Regions from separate parts of the Homo sapiens genome. Here regions 2, 3, 4, 5 and 6 are each linked to region 1. The links are contacts of gene promoters, found by promoter capture Hi-C in human tissues and cell types (Jung and others, 2019). All regions are on one chromosome and are shown on one strand. The core of a region is centred on a gene start or on the middle of the fragment in contact, and the rest is flanking DNA. Distances in the headings are between cores, read along the strand shown. Region 1 holds the start of ACOT1 (acyl-CoA thioesterase 1). Region 2 overlaps RBM25 (RNA binding motif protein 25). Region 3 overlaps ZNF410 (zinc finger protein 410). Region 4 overlaps PSEN1 (presenilin 1). Region 5 overlaps PSEN1 (presenilin 1). Region 6 has its middle 2.8 kb from the start of PTGR2.

Region 1 (3,785 bases), core at 439-2,938:
TCACCTGGCTAATTTTTGTATTTTTAGTAGAGACGGGGTTTCACCATGTTGGCCAGGCTGGTCTCGAACTCTTGATCCGCCTGCCTCGGCCTCCCAAAGTGCTAGGATTACAGGTGTTAGCCACCGCGTCCGGCCTGTTTTTTTTGTTTTGTTTTGTTTGTTTTTAATATTATGTGTCTTTTCTCTTTCCTTACAATGCCTTTTTTTTTTTTTTTTTTTGAGACGGAGTCTCACTCTATTGCCCAGGCTGGAGTGCGTGGCACGATCTTGGCTCACTGCAAACTCCGCCTCCTGGGTTCATGCCATTCTTCTGCCTCAGCGTCCCGAGTAGCTGGGACGACAGGCGCCCGCTACCACGCCCGGCTAATTTTTTGTATTTTTAGTAGAGACGAGTTTTCACCGTGTTAGCCAGGATGGCCTTGATCTCCTGACGTCGTGATCCGCCCGCCTCGGCTTCTCAAAGTGCTGGGATTACAGGCGTGAGCCAGCGCGCCCAGCCCTTACAATGTCTTTTAACTGAGCACTAGGTTTGAGGGACCTCTCAGTTTTGGAGCGGCAGGGGCAATTCCCCAACCAACTTTCCATTCCATTCCTGTCTCCTTACACTAACCTCCGGAATGTTGGAAGCTACATCCTTTCTCCGTATGAAAAGCGCAGGGACGAAAAAAAATAAAAATAAAAAAATAAGTGTAACTCCCCTCAAAGGGCCGGGCGCAGTGGCTCACCCTGCAATCCTAGCTCTTGGGGAGGCAGAGGCGGGAGGATAGCTTGGGTCCAGGAGTTCAAGACCTACCTGGGCAACATAGCCCGGGGTGGTGGTGGTGGGGCGGGAGGAGGGACACACACACAAGCGAAAAGAGCGGGGCGGGGCGAAGGGGACACACACACACACACAGTGGAAAGCGCAGGAACAGGGATGGGCAGAGGGGAACAATTAGCGGAGGTGAGTCACCTGGCGGCAGGAAGAGCGTGCCTCGCACCCGGCCCGCGCGCACCGGCTCGCGCCGCACCCCGGGCGGGAGGAAGTAGCGCTCGTGCCGCACCCGGCACAGCAGCCGCCCGGGGTCGGGGTCGTGGCCATCCAGCACCTCCAGCTCCACGGCCAAGGGCGTTCGCACGTCGCGCTTCACCAGCCGCACCAAGGGTTTCTCGGGCTCCAAGGCCCAGAGCAGCCCCATGGGCTCAAGCCCCGCGAAGCTGCCGCCCAGCGCGGGCGCGCGCTCCAGGTCCAGCTCGCCAAGGGTGTCGGCGCGGTAGCGCGCGTGGGCCTGGAAAAGCGCGCCCTTCTCGTCGCGCAGGGACGCGCGCAGCGTGACCGGCTGCTCCGGGGCTAGGCCGCGCACGGCGATTCGCACCGGTTCGTCCCAGCAGCAGCGGCCCGCGGGCTCCAGGATCAGCGTCGCCGCCATCCGAGCAGGAACCCAAATAATCCGGCCAAACTGCCTCAGCTGTGGAGACCCCTGCAACTCTGCCCAACTCTTCCTCTCGGGCTGCCGTCGCAGGCTAAACGCCCACTAGGGCAGAGCTGTCTGCTAATGTGAGCGGGGAAGGCCAGAGTCCAGCCGATCAGCCAGACCAAATATAGACACACTGGAACTTGCTTAAAGTCTCCTGTGTTGAAACCTCCACTTTATGTTGGAAAGCAACTTCCTAGGTTTGCTTTTCAGAAGCTTGCTGGCTCGCGGAATGGGCTGGGCCAGGACTGGTTCGTCCCGGCTACTCGGGAGGCTGAGGCAGGAGAATGGCGTGATCCCGGGGGGTGGAGCTTGCAGTTGGCCAAGATCATGCCACTGCACTACAGCCTGGGCGACAGAGCGAAAGTCCGTCTCAGAAAAAAAAAAAAACAACAACAACCAGGCAGCTAGCAGTCTCCAGGCTCCAAACTCCTGATGGCGAAGAGGAATGCAGGACTGGAGTTGGTTTTGATCACTTTGTTGAATAATTCACACTCATTACTAATCTTAGGGCTTTTCTTTCAAAATCTGCACCATGGTGTTTTGCTTTCGTGTTCTCTGTATATGCCTATCCTCCACATCACTCCCACATCGAAGGGTGCTGGCTTCTTACTAGCTGTGTGACCTCTGAGCTTTATTCCTTACAGGTGTAAAAATAGCCAAATGAGGTAATAGTTATTAATTTCTCGAACTCCTGACTTTGTGATCCGCCCGCCTCGGCCTCCCAAAGTGCTGGGATTTACAGGCGATGAGCCACCGCGCCCGGCCAATAGTTATTATTTTCTTATACTGGTTTCTCATTTTTGTCCCAGTCAGGCAAGTGTTACCTCTCATCTTTTTTTTTTTTTTTTTTTTTTTTTAAAGAGACAGGGTCTCACTACGTTGCCAGTCTGGAGTACAGCGGCGGTTTACCATCACTGCGCACTTACAAGCCTCAAACTCCTGGGCTAAAGCCATCTTCCTGCCTCAGCCTCTCAAACACCTCAAGGGACTACCGGCGCTCCCCATGCATTGGGCTTTTTTCTACTTTTTCATAGGCTATTGGTTCCAACCAGAGGTGGTTTTTTTTTTTCATCAAACTTAAGCTTTAGGCCCCTCCCAAGCCCTTGTACCTGATTTCATAATTTCCTATCTTGGTAATTAGAGAAACCTATAAATGCGTAAGCTTCAAACTCACAAAACCTGTGTTTGCCTCTGCTCCTAATAAGGCTGTCCTCAAGGTAAGCCTTTTTATCTCTTTCCAAATGCTCTCATGTCCCATGTCCCATGTCATTATCATACAACTCCCTGTTAGTTGTAATTACCTTTGTATAGGTTCTGTGGCACACATCAAGTATATTCTGTGCATAGAAGTCTCAGGAACTAAAGAAGGTAAATAATAGTAGCTAATTGTTAATACTTACAAGAACCGTAGTAGTAAATTAAGGCCCAGAGAATTTAACTGATTTTCTGAAGATCATACAGCTGGGAAGTGGAAGTTGGGTGAGGTGGCTCACGCCTATAATCCCAGTTTACTTGGAGGCTGAGGTGGCAGGGTTTCTTAAGGCCAGGAGTTTCAGACCAACCTGGATAAGACCCTGTCTCTAACAAGAAAAAGGGGCCAGGCGCGGTGGCTCGCGCCTGTAATCCCAGCACTTTGGGAGGCCGAGGCGGGTGGATCACGAGGTCAGCAGATCGACACCATCCTGGCTAACACAGTGAAACTCCGTCTCTACTAAAAAAAAACCAAAAATACAAAAAATTCGCCGGGCGTGGTGGCAGGCGCCTGTAGTCCCAGCTACTCGGGAGGCTGGGGCAGGAGAATGGCGTGAACCCTGGAGGCAGTGCTTGCAGTGAGCCAAGATGGCGCCACTGCACTCCAGCCTGGGCAAAAAAAAAAAAAAAAAAAAAAAAAAAAAAAAAAAAAAGAAAGAAGAAAAAGAAAAGAAAAAGGGAGAGGGTTCATATGTTTGAAATCTGATTCTCAAGGCTGGGCTCTGAACAACTATGTTTAACTGTCTCTCACAGGATGTTGAAGAAGATTTGGAAAAGAAACTCATATTGGTGGATATATAAACTGGTATGACCTTTTCATGGCAATCTATGCAAAAATATTTAAAAGATCCCTTCTCTTTGACTCACAGTTCCACGTCTAGGAATTTGTTTTAAGTATAACTTCATAAATATGTGTAAATATTTGGCTACAAGGATGCTAATCATATCATTTTAATAGAGAAAAAATTAGAAACAAGTTAGCAATATAAATTTGGTTTTACCAGTTTAATTGTGATGTCATAAATGAAAGCAGTTTAGTTATAAAGCAGAAGAATATATGATGAGCATTCTTCCATG
Region 2 (3,785 bases), core at 441-2,940, 420 kb after region 1:
TTTATCTCCAAAAACACAACCTCACAAACTTTTTTTTTTTTTTTCTGGAGACAGGATCTCTCTTGTCACCCAGCCTGGAGTACAGTGGCATGATCATGGTGCACTACAGCCTTGACCTCCCAGGCTCAAGTGATACTCCCACATCAGCCTCACCAGTAGCTAGGACTACAGGTGTGCACCACTACTCCTGGCTACATTTTTGTGCTTTTTAGTAGAGACAGGGTCTCACTATGTTGCCCAGGCTGGTCTCAAACTCCTGGGCTCAAGCAATCTGCGCACCTTGGCCTTCCAAAGTGCTGGGATTACAGGTTTGAGCTGCTGTGCACAGCCCAACCGTACCATCTTAACTAGCATTTATTGTGTATGTGACACTAAAGTGAACATTAAATGAGAATATAAGTATTTAGTACAGTGTCCAGAATACAGTAAACACAATAAGCAAATACAATCATCACGGGGCACACATGACTACTGAGTAACAAGTCTTCTTCCAGTGGTGGATGAGGAAATTGTCTTCCTCTCTACTTATGAGTTATAGGGTCCTTGTGTCCCCATCACTATTCCTGCCATCATCCCATACACACATCTGCCCCTCTACATTATGGCTGCTATGAGGTGAAATGGCCTACTCTGCTCCCTTCTGAAGGGGGCAGCTATGACTGTGCTCCAGAAATGTGGTCTAGTGTTGCCAGGTCTTCATAGAGGAAGTTTGGGGTAGGAATTTAGAGTACTCAATCTCTAGTCAGACTACATTGGTTCAAATTCTCTAGTCAGGCTACATAGGTTCAAATTGCACTGCTGCCTCTTACTAGCGATAGGTCCTTGGTTGGGTTACTTAACCTGAGCCTCAGTTCCCTCACCTCTAAAGTGGAGGCGATGTAGCTACACACCATAGCAGTAGGTACTAAGTGGGAATTAAAAGAGTTGGTATGTAGTTAAGTGCTCTGACAACTGACTGGTATATAACAAGTGCTTAATAAATACCTGGGAAGAGACTGGGCACAGTGGCTCACGCCTGTAATCCCAGCACTTTGGGAGGCCTAGGTAGGCAGATCACCTGAGGTCAGGAGTTTGAGACCAGCCGGGCCAACATGGTGAAACCCGTCAATACTAAAAATACAAAAATTAGCCAGGCGTGCGGGTGGGCACCTGTAATCCCAACTACTTGGGAGGCTGAAGCAGGAGAATTGCTTGAACCCAAGAAGTGGAGGTTACAGTGAGCCAAGATCGCGCCACTGTCACTCCATATAGCCTGGGAAACAGAGCAAGACTCTGTCTCAAAAAAAAAAAAAAAAAAAAAAAAAAAAAAAAAAGAAAAGAAGAAAGAAATTAAAAGAAAGAAATTTCTGTCACTTTCTCAATGATAGCAATAATTAATTAAAGAACTTTTGATCAGATTTCTATGAGCCAGATTTGACTTTAGTTGAAGAACTCTGTTGTAACACTAATTCACATCTGAGTCACACTTCAGAGAGATGTAGGCACAAAATGCAACCAAACTTCATTTAATTTACATAAAATGAAAAAGGTATAATATAAAGAAGTCAGACTTTTGTTAAGAGTGAAACAGTACTCAGGCTAAAAATTCAGTCTCCTCATTTATTCAAGAAATATTTACAAGGCCCCATGAGCTTTTTAGCAGAGCTGTTTGACAACACTAGCTCAACTGGTTTCCTCTCATTCTAATCAACGAGCCACAAAATCATAAACAGTGGTCTAAATACACTTCAAATATCAATATATTACAACAGATCAAAAAATCTAAAATTAACACTGACATGAAATCTTTACTATGTATGATAGGAACTCTGCTGAGGCCAAACGCTAGAACACAGTTTTATTTAAAAAATGTCTTCACTCAGGCCTAACTACGACACCCTCTACTCCAAGAAAAACGGGGCTGGAAGCTTCAGGAAAGTTCAGAATTCAGCCCCAAGGACTGAAATCTATTCACATTTCTCCTTTCCTCTGAGGCAATGAAGTTTTCACAAATGTTTTATCAGGTGTTCTAAATGACAGCTGCATCAAGCTAGCTAGGCAGCAGAAAAGGAATGTTATCTGGCTTTAGACACCATAAAATGCCTGGACACAAAGCAGCTAGACCTCACAATCCTTCTTTTTGACTATAAACCCCACGATGTCCCTCCCTGACATCTCTGGTGGCAGTTCCAAGTGCAAGTACTCCCAGTCATCTACCATTTCATATCATGCTTGATGATTTTTCCTTCCTTACTCATCTTCCCATTGCTGTCTTCCCGCTCTGCCCTTTGGACCGCTATTCCATTTTATACTACACATCAACAACTAAATTAGGTTTTTCCTCTTAACAGAAACCCTCCTCTATCTCCTAGAGCCCCGGCACTTCTCAGGCAGTCTCTCACTCTCAATGTCTTAATCTCCACAGGAATGACTTGTGGGTCTTCACTGTTTCTTTCTTGGTAAAAAAAAAAACAACTCCATGGACGTTCATGAGCTCTCACCACCTTATCCACTGTAAGAGCAGCTATCTGGCAAGTATCTAGTCTTTCCCCCCACTTAAATGAGTGCTCTGGCAACTATTTCCAGTATTTCTCTCCAATCTGACTCCCAATACCCAGGAATTTCCCATAGTCATACTATGCACCTTGCCATCGTCTGGGCTGACCTATCACATATAGACTTGAACTTTCTACACTCTGACCATAACCTCTCCTTTCAGTTGTTTTATTACAATTCGCCTTCCACAACTTCACTGGAACCACTAGTCCTTAATTCATTCAAACCACCAGCTCTATTCAGATACTATTTTCTTCTCTTCCTAACTTGGAGATCATAGTTCAATCTCTTGCTCAACCTTTACCATCAATTTTCTTCTCCTTTCCTTGTCTCACAAAATCACAGTGTTAACTACATGCTACCACTGACTGTAATCCCAAATTAAATGCAACGGGGATTTGATGTTTACTGTCAATACAACAGGTGTTTGGATACCTGTCCAAAAAGCAGCACATATGTACAATCTTGTGGCCATAAAAAACGAAATAGTGTCCTTTACAGGGACATGGATGGAGCTGGAGGCCACTATCCTTAGCAAACTAACACAGGAACAGAAAACCAAATACAGTATGTTTTCACTTATAAGCGGGAGCTAAATGATGAAAAAACATGAACGAAGAGAGGGGAACAACACACAATGGGGCCTATCGTAGGGCAGAGGGTGGGAGGAGGGAGAGGATCAGGAAAAATAACTAATGAGTACTAGGCTTAACACCTGGGTGATGAAATAATCTGTTCAACAAACCCCCATGACACAAGTTTACCTATGTAACAAACCTGCACATGTATCCGACTTAAAACACACACACACACACACACACACACACACACACACGTATCAGTTCCTGTAGTAATCCTTGTGATGCTTAACCTAACTGCTATCAATGCCATCAGATGTTCTATCTCCTCTACCTCCATTATCCTTTCTACATATCTAATTCAAACAAGTACATCAAGGTTCCAGTACCTGTATACCTATCTCTCTGCTACTACAGGTCATTTGTTCTACTTTTATGCTTCTAGCACATTGTGCTGGGCATAGGGAAAACATGAATGGAACTGGTGGAAAAGAATGAAGCCTTATTTATTTATTTAGAGATGGGGTCTCACTCTGTCACCAGGCTGGAGTGCAATGGCATGATCTCGGCTCACTGCAACCTCCACCTCACAGGTTCAAGTGATTCTCCTGCCTCAGACTCCCCGAGTAGCTGGGACTATAGGCACACGCCACCACGCACAGCTAATTTTTG
Region 3 (3,785 bases), core at 879-3,378, 360 kb before region 1:
ATATCAGGGCCAGGCGCAGTGGCTCACGCCTGTAATCCCAACACTTTGGGAGGCCGAGGTGGGTGGATCATGAGGTCAGGAGATCCAGACCATCCCGGCTAACACAGTGAAACCCCGTCTCTACTAAAAATACAAAAAAAAAAATTAGCCAGGCATGGTGGCAGGAGCCTGTAGTCCCAGCTACTCGGGAGGCTGAGGCAGGAGAATGGCGTGAACCCAGGAGGTGGAGCTTGCAGTGAGCCGAGATCGCGCCACTGCACTCCAGCCTGGGCGACAGAGCGAGACTCCGTTTCAAAAAAAAAAAAAAAACTACACATATAGCACAAAAATACATATGCCGTGAAGGAATCTTCCCACCAACCCCAGAACTCCAGCTAATTGATTTCTAATGAAAGGTCTGTTAACATCATGCTTTTTTCTTTTAAATTTTTTCTTTTTTTTTTTTTGAGACAGGGTCTCATTTTGTTGCCCAGGCTGGAATCCAGTGGCATGATCTCGGTTCACTGCAGCCTCGACCTCCCCAACTCAGGAGATCCTCCCACCTCAGCCTCCCAAGTAGCTGGGACTAGAGACAGGTGTGCACTACCACACCTGGCTAATTTTTTCTATTTTTTTTTTGTAGAGATGGGGTTTTGCCATGTTGCCCAGGCTGGTCTCCTGAGCTCAACAGATCCACCCGCCTCGGCCACCCAAAGTGCTGGGATTACAGGCATGAGCCACTGCACCGGCCAAAAAAATCATGCTAATACAGTGATTCAAATCAGTGATAGTAGGGGCTTTCTGGATTCCGTTTTATAGATACAATAAGAATATTAATATAATCATAAAATAGGAAAAATGAATACATAGAATAAGGCAAGGCTAAGAAATCACTGAAACTCCTCCTGCTCAAGAATGAAGATTATCAATATATGGTCAAATAAATATAACGCAAATTTTTCCCTAAAAAAAAAAAAAAATCCCTCAGAAAAGAGTGTATTTGAGTTCTATCATGTTGGCCAGGCTGGTCTTGAACTCCTGACCTCCAGTGATCTGCCCACCTTGGCCTCCCAAAGTGCTGGGATTATAGGTGTGAACCACTGCGCCCGGCTGCCGTATGGTTTCTGTTACAACTACTCAGCTTTGCCATAGTAGCAGCCTTAGACAATTTGTAAGTAATGTGGATGCCTATGTTCCCATAAAACTTTAATTATAAAAACAGGTGGGGATTTGGCCCAAAGGCCTTTGCTGATCTGATATACAACATCTTATGCAAAATTAAAACGTTTCTGTATTTCAAACAACTTAGACTGTAAGTGAAGATAACATGCTCTGAAAAACTATGCTAGAGGACTCATAAAGTGACTTCAGTGTCAACAATGACAAAAATATTTATGTTAAAAATGCATTAAAATATTGAATAAAATCACTTCATTACATGTTAGTGCAAGGGTGTCCAATCTTTTGGCTTCCCTGAGCCACACTGAAAGAAGAAATGTCTTGGACCACACATAAAATATACTAATACTAATGACAGCTGGTGAGCTTTAAAAGCAAACAAACAAAAAAATCTCATAATGTTTTAAGAAAGTTTACGAATTTGTGTTGGGCTGCATTCAAAGGTATCCTGGGCCACACGTGCCCACAGGCCGTATGTTGGACAAGCTTGTGTTAGTGGGTGAAAGCAATATTGATATATTTCATATGATTTAAAATGTATATGTGGGACCACGCACGGTGGCTCACGCATGTAATCCCAGCACTGCGGGAGGCAGAGGCAGGCAGATCACCTTGGGTCAGGAGTTTGAGACCAGCCATGGCCAACACGGTGAAACCCTGTGTCTACTAGAAATACAAAAATTAGCTGGGCATGGTGGCATGCACATGTAGTCCCAGCTACTCGGGAGGCTGAGGCAGAGAATCACTTGAGCCCAGGAGGCAGAGTTTGCAGTGAGCCGAGATTGCGCCGCTGCACTCCAGCCTGGGCGACAGACTGAGACTCGGTCTCAAAAAAAAAAAAAAAATTAAAATGTGTATGTATAACCAAAATCATAAAGCTTCCAAATAGCAACCTATAATGTTAATTTTATCTACATGCTTAAAAGTTTACATAACTAAGTTAGAAAAAAATAAAAGGCTTTTAGGGTATTATCTTGTTGGAAAATAAAAGATTGTCTTATATTTGGGGTGATTTTTTTTTTTTTTGGGAGACCAAGTTTCGCTCTTGTTGCCCAGGCTGGAGTGCAGTGGTGCGATCTCCACTCACTGCAACCTCCACCTCCCGGGTTCAAGCAGTTCTGTCTCAGCCTTCCTGAGTAGCTGGGATTACATGCATGCGCCACCACGCCCAGCTAATTTTGTATTTTTAGTAGAGACGGGATTTCTCCACGTTGGTCAGGCTGGTCTCGAATTCCTGACCTCAGATGATCTGCCTGCCTCGGCCTCCCAAAGTGCAGGGATTACAGGCATGAGCCACAATGCCCAGCCTATTTGGGGTGATTTTATATTCAGGCATACAAAGTAGTTGTTAAGATAGTAAGGCAACATACTTTGAGAGTAAGAAAAACATCCACACAATGCTTTGCTGATTATAACATTTCCCAGATAGAATGTTACATAATCTCCATAACAAGCCAGTCAGGAAAGCTGCCTGATCTCTATGTTCAGATCGTAAGAAAATTGAAGCTAAGGGAGGTTAAACTGCCCAAGGCAGGGAACCAGTAAATGATGGTGCCAGGCCTGGATCCCAGGGCTCCCAGATTCTAAATTGCAAGCTCCCCTCCCTACGCTGCTTCTCATTGGCAAATATGACACTATTTCTTCAATGTAAGAGGAAATGCTGAAGGTTTCAGCATCTGGAGATTGGCACATATATCTCAGGAAGAATCTGAACTTTAAGGGTCCCACCAAAATGTTAAAATGAACCATTCTAAGTAGCACTATGGTAGTCATAAACAGAACTAAGTATTTTGAAAACAAACAGTTTAGAGTTTGGCTGGGGATGGTTGCTCACACCTAAAATCCCAGCACTTAGGGAGCCAGAGGCAGGAGGAGACCCTGAGTCCAGGAGTTTGAGACCTGTCTGGCAACAGAGCAAAACCTCATTCTCCATAAAAAGGGAAAAAAAAAGACCAAAAAAAAAAAAGATTTAATGTTTCAAAATATTCATAGGGAACTCTAGTTCTCTATGAGAAATTTTAACTTTTTATTTTCATTTGAATGGTAATCAAAAAATAATAATAAGCATATACTAGATAATCTGCATAAACTCCAAACAACTGTGTACTAAGTGCTTAAGCTTAGTTTGTGATAATGATAGCATTAAACCATGTTGTATTGAGTTGTGTCACATGTTAATGAGAAAACACAGAGGCAGACCTAAAAAAGTATCCATGACATGCTACATAAGCAAAGATTCTGCAGTGGTCTGAATAGAGCCGTGGTTCTCAAGCTTTAACATGTATCAGAACCAAGTTTTTGACTCAGTAGGTCTGGCATGGGCCTGAGAGTTTATATTTCTCAGTTCCCACGTGACGTCAATGATCCAGTGACAATGCTTTGAAAATTACTAGAACAGAGAAAAGTGACACAGAGTAAGTAGTATAGGCATGCTGAACTGAAAAGAAAAAGCATTAAAACCATCATAGCTAATTGTTAAACTGCCATGAGCAGCAATTTAGTTTCAGCAAAACATAATCCTCTGCCACAATGACTTAATGTTATTTTTATTTTCATGGATTTGGTAGTTTTATTCCTATTAACTGATAAAAACTGTTTTGATTTCATGATGGTATAAGAGCTCTAAG
Region 4 (3,785 bases), core at 672-3,171, 350 kb after region 1:
CGCCCCGTCCGGGAGGTGAGGGGCGCCTCTGCCCGGCCAGCCGCCCCGTCCGGGAGGGAGGTGGGGGGGTCAGCCCCCCGCCCGGCCAGCCGCCCCGTCCGGGAGGGAGGTGGGGGGGTCAGCCCCCCGCCCGGCCAGCCGCCCCGTCCGGGAGGGAGGTGGGGGGGTCAGCCCCCCGCCCGGCCAGCCGCCCCGTCCGGGAGGGAGGTGGGGGGGTCAGCCCCCCGGCCGGCCAGCCGCCCTGTCCGGGAGGGAGGTGGGGGGGGGTCAGCCCCCCGCCCGGCCAGCCGCCCCGTCTGGGAGGGAGGTGGGGGGATCAGCCCCCCGCCTGGCCAGCCGCCCCGTCCGGGAGGTGAGGGGCGCCTCTGCCCGGCCGCTCCTACTGGGAAGTGAGGAGCCCCTCTGCCCGGCCAGCCGCCCCGTCCGGGAGGGAGGTGGGGGGGTCAGCCCCCCGCCCGGCCAGCCGCCCCGCCCGGGAGGTGAGGGGCACCTCTGCCCGGCCGCCCCTACTGGGAAGTGAGGAGCCCCTCTGCCCGGCCACCACCCCGTCTGGGAGGTGTGCCCAACAGCTCATTGAGAACGGGCCAGGATGACAATGGCGGCTTTGTGGAATAGAAAGGCGGGAAAGGTGGGGAAAAGATTGAGAAATCGGATGGTTGCCGTGTCTGTGTAGAAAGAAGTAGACATGGGAGACTTTTCATTTTGTTCTGTACTAAGAAAACTTCTTCTGCCTTGGGATCCTGTTGATCTGTGACCTTACCCCCAACCCTGTGCTCTCTGAAACATGTGCTGTGTCCACTCAGGGTTGAATGGATTAAGGGCGGTGCAAGATGTGTTTTGTTAAACAGATGCTTGAAGGCAGCATGCTCGTTAAGAGTCATCACCACTCCCTAATCTCAAGTACCCAGGGACACAAACACTGCGGAAGGCCGCAGGGTCCTCTGCCTAGGAAAACCAGAGACCTTTGTTCACTTGTTTATCTACTGACCTTCCCTCCACTATTGTCCTATGACCCTGCCAAATCCCCCTCTGTGAGAAACACCCAAGAATTATCAATAAAAAATAAATTAAAAAAAAAAAATACAAAAATTAGCCAGACATAGTGGCACACACCTGCAGTCCCAGCTATTTGGGAGGCTGAGGCAGGAGAATCACTTCAACCTGAGAGGCGGAGGTTGTGGAGAGCTGAGATCGCACCATTGCACTCCAGCCTGAGCAACAGAGCGAGACTCCATCTCAAAAAAACAAAAAAGGTAAGCTGAGAACATCTGTACATTTCCCTCCAAATACTTCAACTTTAGCCTAAATTTTATCTCACTCTTTAAAACTTGTCTGTCTTGGCCAAGACAAACAATACCAGTGGGAGATGTACACTGGGATTCCATATTAAGCTTTAAATTAAGGACCAGAGTAAATATTAAATAATTGAAATTCTCATCATTCTTGAGAGATGCTTTTCACCTCGGTTTTTTGGCAAAGGAAGAAGGAGATGTTCTTATTTATTTCTTTTTTTAATTTTATTTATTTATTTTTGGGAGATGAAGCCTCACTTTGTCGCCCAGGCTGGAGTGCAGTAGCATGGTCTTGGCTCACTGCAACCTCCACCTCCCAGATTCAAGCAATTCTCCTGCCTTAGCCTCCCGAGTAGCTGGGATTACAGGCACCCACCACCAACGCCCAGGTGATTTTTGTATTAGAGATGAAGTTTCACCATGTTGGCCAAGCTGGTCTTGAACTCCTGATCTCAAGTGATCCACCCTCCTTAGCCTCCCACAGTGCTGGGATTATAGGCGTGAGCCACCATGCCCGGCCTAATTTTAATTTTTTTAACTGTACCTTCTAGGAGCCCCCAAATATTTTTTTTTTAATTATTTTTTGAGATAGGGCCTCACTGTGTTGCCCAGGCTGGGGTACAGTGGCATGATCGTAGCTCACTGCAATCTCGAACCACTGGGCTCAAGCCATACTCCCACCTCAGCCTCCCTAGTACCTAGGACTATAGGCGTGGGTACACCACCATGCCTGGCTAATTTTTTAATTTTTTTTTTTTCTTTTTGTAGAGGTGGGGGTCTCACTCTGTTGCCCAAGCTGGTTTTGAACTCCTGGCTTCAAGTGATCCTCTGGTCTCAGCCATACTGGTGAGAGTCACCGTGCCCAGTCTTGCTTATTTTAAAAATAGCATTTTTCTGAATCAAAAGTAACATATGCTTGTAACACTTAAGAAACACAGAAACACTAAAAGAAGAAAACTATTCTAAAGGCCAGTGACAACCAAAATTAATACCAACATTTCCCTTTCAGGCCAGGCACAGTGGCTCACGCCTGTTATCCCAGCAGTTTGGGAGGCTGAGACAGGTGGATTGCCTGAGGTCAGGAGTTCAAGACCAGCCTGACCAACATGCCAAAACCCCGTCTCTACTAAAAATACGAACATTAGCTAGGCGTGGTGGCAGGTGCCTGTAGTCCCAGCTACCATGGAGGTTGAGGTGGGAGGATTGCTTGAACCCAGGAGGTATAGGGTGCAGTGAGCCGAGACAGTGCCACTACATTCCAGCCTGACTGACAAAGTGAGACATTGTCTCAAAAAAAAATACGAAACAAAATAAAACCGTTTCCCTTTCAGACATGTTTTCTATCTGCACGTATAGGCGTGTGTAAAGACCTTAACAGTGAGAATCAACTAGTGTACTGTTTACATTCTGCTTTCACAAATGTAATCTTTTATTACAAACATATTCTCATGCCACCAAATATTATTTGAAAATATGATTTTTTTTTAAGAGACTGGGGTCTCACTATGTTTCCCAGGCTAGACTGGAAAACCTGGGCTCAAGCAATCATCTCGTCTCAGGGTCCCAAGTAACTGGGTCTACAGGTCCGTGCCACTGCACCTGGCGTGAAACTATGATTGATTGACTGATTGATTGATTGATTTTGAGATGGAGTTTTGCTCTTGTTGCCCAGGCTGGAGGGCAATGGCGCAATCTCACCGCAACCTCCACTCCCCAGATTCAAGCGATTCTCCTGCCTCAGCCTCCTGAGTAGCTGGGATTACAGGCACTCGCCACCACGCCCAGCTAATTTTTTTGTATTTTTAGTAGAGACAGGATTTCTCCATGTTGGTCAGGCTGGTCTCGATCTTCTGACCTCAGGTGATCCGCCCACCTCAGCCTCCTAAAGTGCTGGGATTACATGCGTGAGCCACCACGCCCAGCTGAAACTATGATTTTTAAATGACAAAATAATAGTCTACTCATACGGATAAACCCACAATTGAACCTTTGCCTTATGCATGGAATCTGTATTGTTTTCCCTTTCTTTCCCCAATTTTAATTTACATTAAAATGAACATCCTACTTCACAAATATTTTTCTGCATTTCTAATTCCTTCTTTAGAATATATCATAAAAGCAAAATTACTAAATCAAAGTGTACAAACTTTTTCTAATTACTGATTTAATTAATACACACTGGCTTAGTTACTTGACAAAAAAGACTAATCTTGACAAAGTCAATATGTCAAATATGTTAATTTGTTATTTTCATATGCATTTCTTTTATTACTATGTTATACACACACATTTCAACAGGCCTTTCTCATCTTGCAAAAATCCCTAGTTCAGCTTTCCTGTGCTAAAGGGTATGAAAGAAAACAGCCCTGCTGTTTTATAGTACACAACAGTATCTTCTCTAAACCCTAAACTATCAAGGCCAGAAATCATCTGACTTTAATAAGTTATAGTTCCTTTTATAACAAATTATGTATAATAATTAACTGCCTTTCC
Region 5 (3,785 bases), core at 413-2,912, 330 kb after region 1:
TCTCCTGACCTCGTGATCCGCCCGCCTCAGCCTCCCAAAGTGCTGGGATTACAGGCGTGAGCCACCACGCCCGGCCTGGTCACAGTAATTTTAAACAAGATACTTGACATTTATGTCTCTCTGGCTTTTTATCACAATAATTTTATCCATGTTTCTAATACTCAGGCTTCTTGAAGAACTTATGAAAGAAACACACAATCAAAGAAGCTGAACGACCACCTTGTTATTTCTGAGGTCAACCAAGTTTCATTATAGGATAACCCAACCAAATGATCAAAAGTTAACAGAAACCAGGCAGGCAATACACTGTTTAACTAAATCCAGATCTAAAGAAGAAAAACTGAAGGGCAACCACCAAGTATGAGGTTTATGGATTAGTTTTTTATCTTCATTTTTTCTAAAAACAGGGTCTCACTACGTTGCCCAGGCCAGACTCAAACTCCTGGGCTCAAGCAATCCTCCCGCCTCAGCCTCCCAAAGTGCTAGGATTACAGGCATGAGCCACTGCACCCAGCCTGTTTATGGATTTCCATAGCCTTTTGGAAATGAAGCCACCAGCGATTTATTAGGTTTTCTTTCTTTATGCAAGTATGAAAAAATATAGCTACAAGCTCCTTTGTTTTAGCAGTTAATAGTAACATGAAAATCAATGTCCAGCTAACTTTTTCTGTAAATGGCCAGGGAGTAAACATTTCAGGTTTTGTGTGTCACATATTCTTCCTTGTTCTTTTTTTTTTTTTTTAAATGTAAAAAGCATTTTTAGCTTATAAGCTGTACAAAAACAAGCCATGGGCCATATTTGGCTTCAAGCAGTAGTTTGCTAACCCCATGTTAATTATCATAAATAGTATATTTGTTAAATAGTCCTAAAATAATATTTTTTTAAAAATCACTTTTCATTTCACCTTAACACAAACACCTTACATCAACAGGAAAATAAGCAGATTTCGTTTAAATTAAAAAAAAAAAAAAAGGCCAGGCATGGTGGCTCACACCTGTAATCCCAGCACTTTGGGAGTCGGAGGTGGGTGGATCACCTGAGGTCAGGAGTTCAAGACCAGCCTGACCAACATGGAGAAACCCTGTCTCTACTAAAAATACAAAATTAGCCCGGTGTGGTGGTGCATGTCTATAATCCCGGCGACTCGGGAGGCTGAGGCAGGAGAATTGCTTGAATCCAGGAGGCGGAGGCTGTGGTGAGCCGAGATCGTGCCATTGCACTCCAGCCTGGGCAATGAGAGCGAAACTCTGTCTCAAAAAAATAAAATAAAAAATAAATACAAAAAAATATGTTTTTTAATGTAGTCTAGGGTGGTCTTGAATTCCTGGGCTCAAGCAATCCTCCTGCTTCTACCTCCCAAAGTCCTGGGATTATAGTCATGCCTGGCTGGAAAATATGCAGATTTAAAAATTAACATAATATACCCGCCCCCAACTGATATGAAATCAAAAAGCTTTAGATAAAATGATCTACCTCAAGGAATTGTTAGTTTCCCTTCTAGTTAAGCTCCCAGAGTGAACCACTTCTACTAATGACCACTAGGTAAGAATAAATTAGCTCAAAGAGTAGGTGTATATTTTTTCTGTCAAACGACAGAAGTAAAAAACAAAAATGCTCATACATTTCCTGTCAGTAAGAGCATTTTGCAAACTGAATACCCTTAACTGGGAGACAGTATTAAAATGCATGAAAGAATTATTTATTGATTTTTAGAGAACAAATAGCCAGGATGACTGATTTAAAACTTTTTATATTCATGCTTATATCCACTTCAGGGAAAAAGTACTCATCGGCATTGCGTTGTGGTTTTCTTACATTCTGTTAAAAATGTAAGAAAAATGTAAGAAAAAATTCTTACATTCTGTTGAAAAAACAAAACGAAGGCCAGGTGCGGTGGCTCATGCCTGTAATCCCAGCACTTTGGGAGGGTGAGGCGGGTAGATCACCTGAGGTCACAAGTTTGAGACCAGCCTGGCCAACATGGTGAAACCCTCTCTCTACTAAAAATACAAAAATACAAAAAATTAGCTGGGCGTGGTGGCAGGCGTCTGTAATCCCAGCTACTCAGGAGGCCGAGGCAGGAGAATCGCTTGAACCTGGGAGGCGGAGGTTGCAGTGAGCCGAGATTGTGCCATTGCACTTCAGCCTGGGCAACAAGAGTGAAACTCCATCTCAAAAACAAAAACAAAAAAACCTCTCAAACTCAATGATTTATATAAAATCCTCAAATCTTCACCAGACATTTAGTATTACAAAAGAACAGATGCAATCTTGAACCTACCTGATCTACACAGGAGGTAAGGGTTTATACTCCTATTTTCCCACATATGTTGAACTGTTTCTAAAACATCTCAGAATGTCTCATATTCTGTGGTTATTAAATAGACTTGAGAACTTTTAAAAAAATACATGCAAATCATCTGTATCATTCCAATTTTACTATTATGTGCTGCTAAAGCGAGCACAGACGTTGAGTTTTAAAAATATTATATATGATAGGCTGGGCACGGTGGCTCACGCCTGTAATCCCAGCACTTTGGGAGGCCGAGGAGGGCAGATTACGAGGTCAAGAGATCGAGACAATCCTGGCTAACACGGTGAAACCCCGTCTCTACTAAAAATACAAAAAATTAGCCAGGCATGGTGGCGGGCGCCTAGAGTCCCAGCTACTCGGGAGGCTGAGGCAGGAGAATGGCGTGAACCCGGGAGGTGGAGCTTGCAGTGAGTCGAGATCACGCTACTGCACTCCAGCCTGGGTGACAGAGCAAGACTGTCTCAAAAAAAAAAAAAAAAAAAAAAAAAAAAAATATATATATATATATATATATATATATATATATATATATATATAGTATGTGATAGATATTTTAAAACAGAGTAAATGCTTCTTTCTGAGTATTAAATTAACATACATGTTTAATGTTGCTGCAGACTGAAAGTCTGGTCCTAATTCCTCACCCATCTCTGTACTCACACTTTTGCCACGGACTCACTTTGAGTAGAATGTATTTTCCCTTCTCCCAACCTGTGGCTCAACTAAAAATATGGAAAAAAAAAATTAGCCAGGTATAGTGGCGCATGCTTGTAATCTCAACTACTCGGGAGGCTGAGGCAGGAGAATTGCCTGAACCCAGGAGATGGAGGTTGCAGTGAGCTGAGATTGCGCCACTGCACTCCAGCCTGGGCAACAGAGCAAGACTTACCTCAAAAATAAAATAAAACAGGTCGGGTGCAGTGGCTCACGTCTGTAATCCCAGCACTTTGGGAGGCCGAGGCAGGTGGATCACTTGAGGTGGGGAGTTCAAGGCCAGCCTGGCCAATGTGGCGAAACCCCAACTCTACTAAAAATACAAACATTAGCCGGATGTGGTGGTGGGTGCCTATAATCCCAGCTACTCCGGAGGCTGAGACAGGACCATTGCTTGAACTTGGGAGGCGGGGGTTGCAGTGAGCCAAGATCACACCACTGCACTCTAGCCCGAGCAACAGAGCAAGACTCTGTTTCAAAAAAAATAAATAAATAAAATAAAATGGAACCTTCCCTCTCCTTGAAACACCTTTCCTGAAACCTGTTCTCCTGTCAGGTCACCACCTGCTCTGCCTGTGAGACAGGAATCTTTGATGTAGTACATGACATTTACTATACCTCTCCTTCTTCACCACCCATTCTCTGCCTACACCATCACTTCCACTGCCAGCACTGGCAAAACACAGAGACATGCATGCACACATACGCACCTTCCCTTTGGAGTACTGCTTCTGGTTCTATCACTCTACTGAAACT
Region 6 (3,785 bases), core at 573-3,072, 310 kb before region 1:
CAGGAGCTAATCTCTTTTATCTGTCATGGACAGGTAGACAGACCTTCAATGCCTTTTGTAATGACTTAAACCAAATGATGAAAAATAAAATGCTCAAATAGACAAAAAGTAGTAGTATAAAATAAAGGTAATCTAGAACTTGATTTAAAAGAAACACTTTCAAAATAGAAAAGAAGCCCTGCAATATTAAATTAGTTTTGGGGCTGGACGCAGTGGCTCACGCCTGTAATCTCAGACCTTTGGGAGGCAGAGGCAGGTGGATTGCTTGAGTCAGGAGTTCGAGACCAGCCTGGGCAACGTGGTGAAACCGCATTTCTTCAAAAAATAAAAAATAAAATGAAATTAGCTAGGTGTGGTGGTGCTTGCTGGTAGTCTCTCAGCTGCTCAGTAGGCTGCAGCGAGCCTTGATCACACCACTGCACTCCAGCCTGGGTGACAGACTGATACCTTGTCTCAAAAATTTTAAATATATGTATGTGTATTAATTAGTTTTAGCTCTCTTGATTCTAGGGTCTGTGAACTCCTTGTAACAAGTGTGATTTTTCTCGCCAAAATGAGTTCCCAAAAATTCAAGAGATGAGTAGAGGATTTATAGGTACATTTCTATCCAGTTTATCCTCTTCTTCTAAATTTTCTCTAACACCAAGGATTACTATCATTTACATAATGCGTAGTTTGAGTTGGATAATGCCTTATATGATTTTTTGCCTACATGATTTAATTTTCAAAACAGCCCTATTATTATTATTACCATTTTACGAATGAGGAAACCGAAGTTAAGCTAGTTAAGTTCTAAGTCAGGTTAAGTAACTAATAAGTAAAGGAGCAAGTTATCCTGCCTGAGTCCAAGCACCTGACCCTTTGTTATATTTGCCATAAATCTGGAATTCCCTACTCCTCCCTCTTTGCAGAACTTTGTACTGCCTCCTTCTCATCGTTCAAGCAATTCCTGAGAATCATTTTCTTTTTTTTCTTTTTTCTTTTCTTTTTTTTTTTTTTTTTTTTTGAGACGGAGTCTCTCTCTGTCGCCCAGGCTGGAGTGCAGTGGCACGATCTCGGCCTACTGCAACCTCTGCCTCCCGGGTTCAAGCAATTGAGCCTACTGAGTAGCTGGAACTACAGGTGCATGCCACCACACCCAGCTAATTTTTGTATTTTTAGTAGAAATGGGGTTTCATCATGTCGGCCAGGCTGGTCTCAAACTCCTGACCTCAGGTGATCCACCTGCCTTGGCCTCCCAAAGTGCTGGGATTAAAGGCATGAGCCACCACGCCCAGCCCTGAGAATCATTTTCTAGACTTCACTAGAAGGAAGTGTCAATTCTTCTCATCTCCATCTTATCAAAAAAAAATACATAGTATATATTGTTTCATTCAAGCATGATAAATATAGGCCAGGTGCAGTGGCTCACACTCATAATTCCAGCACTTAGGGAGGCGAGACAGGAGGATCACTTGAGGCCAGAAGTTTCAGACCAGCCTGGGCAACATAGGAGACCCCTATCTCTACAAAAAACAAACAACAACCAAAAAAAAAAACAAAAAGAAAAAAAATAGCCAGGTGTGGTGGCACACACCTGCAGTCCCAGCAGCTACTCATGAGGCTGAGGCAGGAGGATCGCTTAAACCCAGGAATTCCAAGTTGCAGCTAGCTATGATCTCATCACTACATTCCACCCTAGGTGCCAGAGTAAGACTTTGTCTCAAAAAAAGAAAAAAAAAAAAAAAAAAAGCCAGGCACTGTGGCTCAAACCTGTAATCCCAGAACTTTGGTAGGCCAAGAGGTAGGAAGATCGATTGAGCCCAGGAGTTCAACACCAGCCTAGGCAACATGGCAAAACCCACCTCTACAAAAAATTTTAAAAATTAGCCTGGTGTGATGTGTGTGCCTGTTGTCTCAGCTGCTTGACAGACTGAGGTGTGAGGATCACTTGAGCCCAGGAGGGCGAGGCTGCAGTGAGCTGTGTTTGCACCACTGCACTCCAGCCTGGGCAACAGAATGAGATTCTGTCTCTTAAAAAAAAAAATGCATAATAAATATAAATACTTGGCCGAGCGCAGTGACTCACGCCTGTAATCCCAGCACTTTGGGAGGCTGACGTGGGCGGATCACAAGGTCAGGAGATCAAGACCATCCTGGGTAACACGGTGAAACCCCGTCTCTACTAAAAATACAAAAAAATTAGCTGAGCGTGGTGGGGGCGCCTATAGTCCCAGCTACTCAGGAGGCTGAGGCAGGAGAATGGCATGAACCCGGGATGCAGAGCTTGCAGTGAGCAGAGATTGCACCACTGCACTCCAGCCTGGGCGACAGAGCAAGACTCCATCTCAGAAATAAATAAATAAATAAAATAAATATAAATACTTAATCTAATATGTTTGTATACTCATTCATTAAATTATTTTTTAGTTTTTTCATTCATTAAATTATTTTTAAATGAAAATAACCTCGTATGATAGCAAATTACTCAGGAGAAATCATTCAAGTTTGACCAACCTGCATGGTATATGACACTTAGTGCAACATCAAAGATTATTTGATGCTAAATAAAACATTTTTCCATGGAGGTGATAATTGTTCATAATGACACAAATTCAAACCCAAACATACATCCTAAAGAGATAACAGAACAAAGTAAGAGATAAAAACCACACCTGGCTGGGCTCGGTGGCTCATGCCTGTAATCCCAGCACTTTGGGAGGCTGAGGCAGGCGGATCACATGAGGTCAGGAGTTCGAGACCAGCCTGGCCAACATGGTGAAACCCTGTCTCCACTAAAAATACAAAATACAAAAATACAAATACAAATACAAAAAATTAGCCGGGCATGGTAGCGAGCGCCTATAAACCCAGCTACTCAGGAGGCTGAGGCAAAAGAATGGCTTGAACCTGGGAGGCAGAGGTTGCAGTGAGCCCAGATCACGTCACTATACTCCAGCCTGGGTGACAGAGCAAGACTCTGTCTCAAAAAAAAAAAAAAAAAAAAAAAAAAAAAAAAAATGCTGTAACCGAATCCTGTGAAACTCAAGCTTAAATAAATGCTTTTTCAGAAAAATTGAGCATTTAGAAAAAGGTCATATTTGTGCCTATTACAAGGTGGGTTCTCTGGAAAGCAAACCCTGATGGGGAGTTTGGTATGCAGGATGTCTATTAGGGAATACCTTTTGAATCAATACCTATCGGAGGAAGAGGAAGAAAGCAGGACTGGGCAACAGGAGAAGCTGAACTCCCCGGGGAGCTTGGAACTAACATGGCCAGTCAGAGTTGTCCTCTGTTGGACCTGAATTTTCTCCCACTCCTTTTAGTTAAAGTCACTGTGGGTAATGTATCTCAAAATTGCAAAGCAAAATTTTCTCCCCTGTACCTCCTATTGGTATGACTGATCTCTTTAGGGGCTTGAATGCTATAAGCTATTTCACTGCTATTAAATAAAAGCTTATTTATTTATTTATTTACTTTAATTTTTTTTGAGATGGAGTCTTGCTTTATCACCCAGGCTGGAGTGCAGTGGCGGGATCTTGGCTCACTGCAACCTCTGCTTCCCAGGTTCAAGTGATTCTCCTGCCTCAGCCTCCCAAGTAGCTGGGACTACAGGCACCCACCACCATGCCTGTATTTTTGTATTTTTAGTAGATACGGGGTTTTACCATGTTGGCCAGGCTGGTCTTGAACTCCTGACCTCAAGTGATCCACCTGCCTCAGCCTCCTAAAGTGTTTGGATTACAGGCATGAGCCACTGCACCCGGCTATATTTCTTCCTCCACTTCTGCCAGTAAAATTTAGCT

Evidence for each region. The method cuts DNA at HindIII sites, captures the fragments that hold promoters and counts their contacts. A contact is called where the count stands out against the background at its distance.
Region 2: a contact is called between a fragment that was not itself captured here and the fragment with the promoter of ACOT1 in region 1, in 1 of the 25 tissues and cell types used here (dorsolateral prefrontal cortex).
Region 3: a contact is called between a fragment that was not itself captured here and the fragment with the promoter of ACOT1 in region 1, in 2 of the 25 tissues and cell types used here (dorsolateral prefrontal cortex and spleen).
Region 4: a fragment that was not itself captured here is called in contact with the fragment with the promoter of ACOT1 in region 1 in 1 of the 25 tissues and cell types used here (liver).
Region 5: a fragment that was not itself captured here is called in contact with the fragment with the promoter of ACOT1 in region 1 in 2 of the 25 tissues and cell types used here (dorsolateral prefrontal cortex and mesenchymal stem cells).
Region 6: a fragment that was not itself captured here is called in contact with the fragment with the promoter of ACOT1 in region 1 in 2 of the 25 tissues and cell types used here (dorsolateral prefrontal cortex and mesenchymal stem cells).

Annotation. Positions count from the first base shown.
Region 1 is chr14:73,535,046-73,538,830 of GRCh38, reverse strand. It overlaps ACOT1 (acyl-CoA thioesterase 1), which reads right to left and starts at 1,688. Exons shown (of 3, transcript NM_001037161.2): 1 at 953-1,688. The coding sequence starts at 1,409. All of the region lies in intron 1 of HEATR4 (HEAT repeat containing 4), which reads left to right. The HindIII fragment of the contact is 14,338 bases long and covers 1-3,785 here.
Region 2 is chr14:73,114,739-73,118,523 of GRCh38, reverse strand. All of the region lies in intron 18 of RBM25 (RNA binding motif protein 25), which reads right to left. Among named protein-coding and RNA genes, the nearest start is that of PSEN1, 20 kb to the left of the region's middle. The HindIII fragment of the contact is 4,963 bases long and covers 1-3,785 here.
Region 3 is chr14:73,898,595-73,902,379 of GRCh38, reverse strand. The region is part of intron 5 of ZNF410 (zinc finger protein 410); the gene reads right to left. Among named protein-coding and RNA genes, the nearest start is that of ZNF410, 14 kb to the right of the region's middle. The HindIII fragment of the contact is 5,178 bases long and covers 1-3,785 here.
Region 4 is chr14:73,180,589-73,184,373 of GRCh38, reverse strand. The region is part of intron 5 of PSEN1 (presenilin 1); the gene reads right to left. Among named protein-coding and RNA genes, the nearest start is that of PSEN1, 46 kb to the right of the region's middle. The HindIII fragment of the contact is 5,864 bases long and covers 1-3,785 here.
Region 5 is chr14:73,201,486-73,205,270 of GRCh38, reverse strand. All of the region lies in intron 8 of PSEN1 (presenilin 1), which reads right to left. Among named protein-coding and RNA genes, the nearest start is that of PAPLN, 34 kb to the left of the region's middle. The HindIII fragment of the contact is 4,667 bases long and covers 1-3,785 here.
Region 6 is chr14:73,847,183-73,850,967 of GRCh38, reverse strand. No RefSeq gene overlaps it. Among named protein-coding and RNA genes, the nearest start is that of PTGR2, 2.8 kb to the left of the region's middle. The HindIII fragment of the contact is 4,503 bases long and covers 1-3,785 here.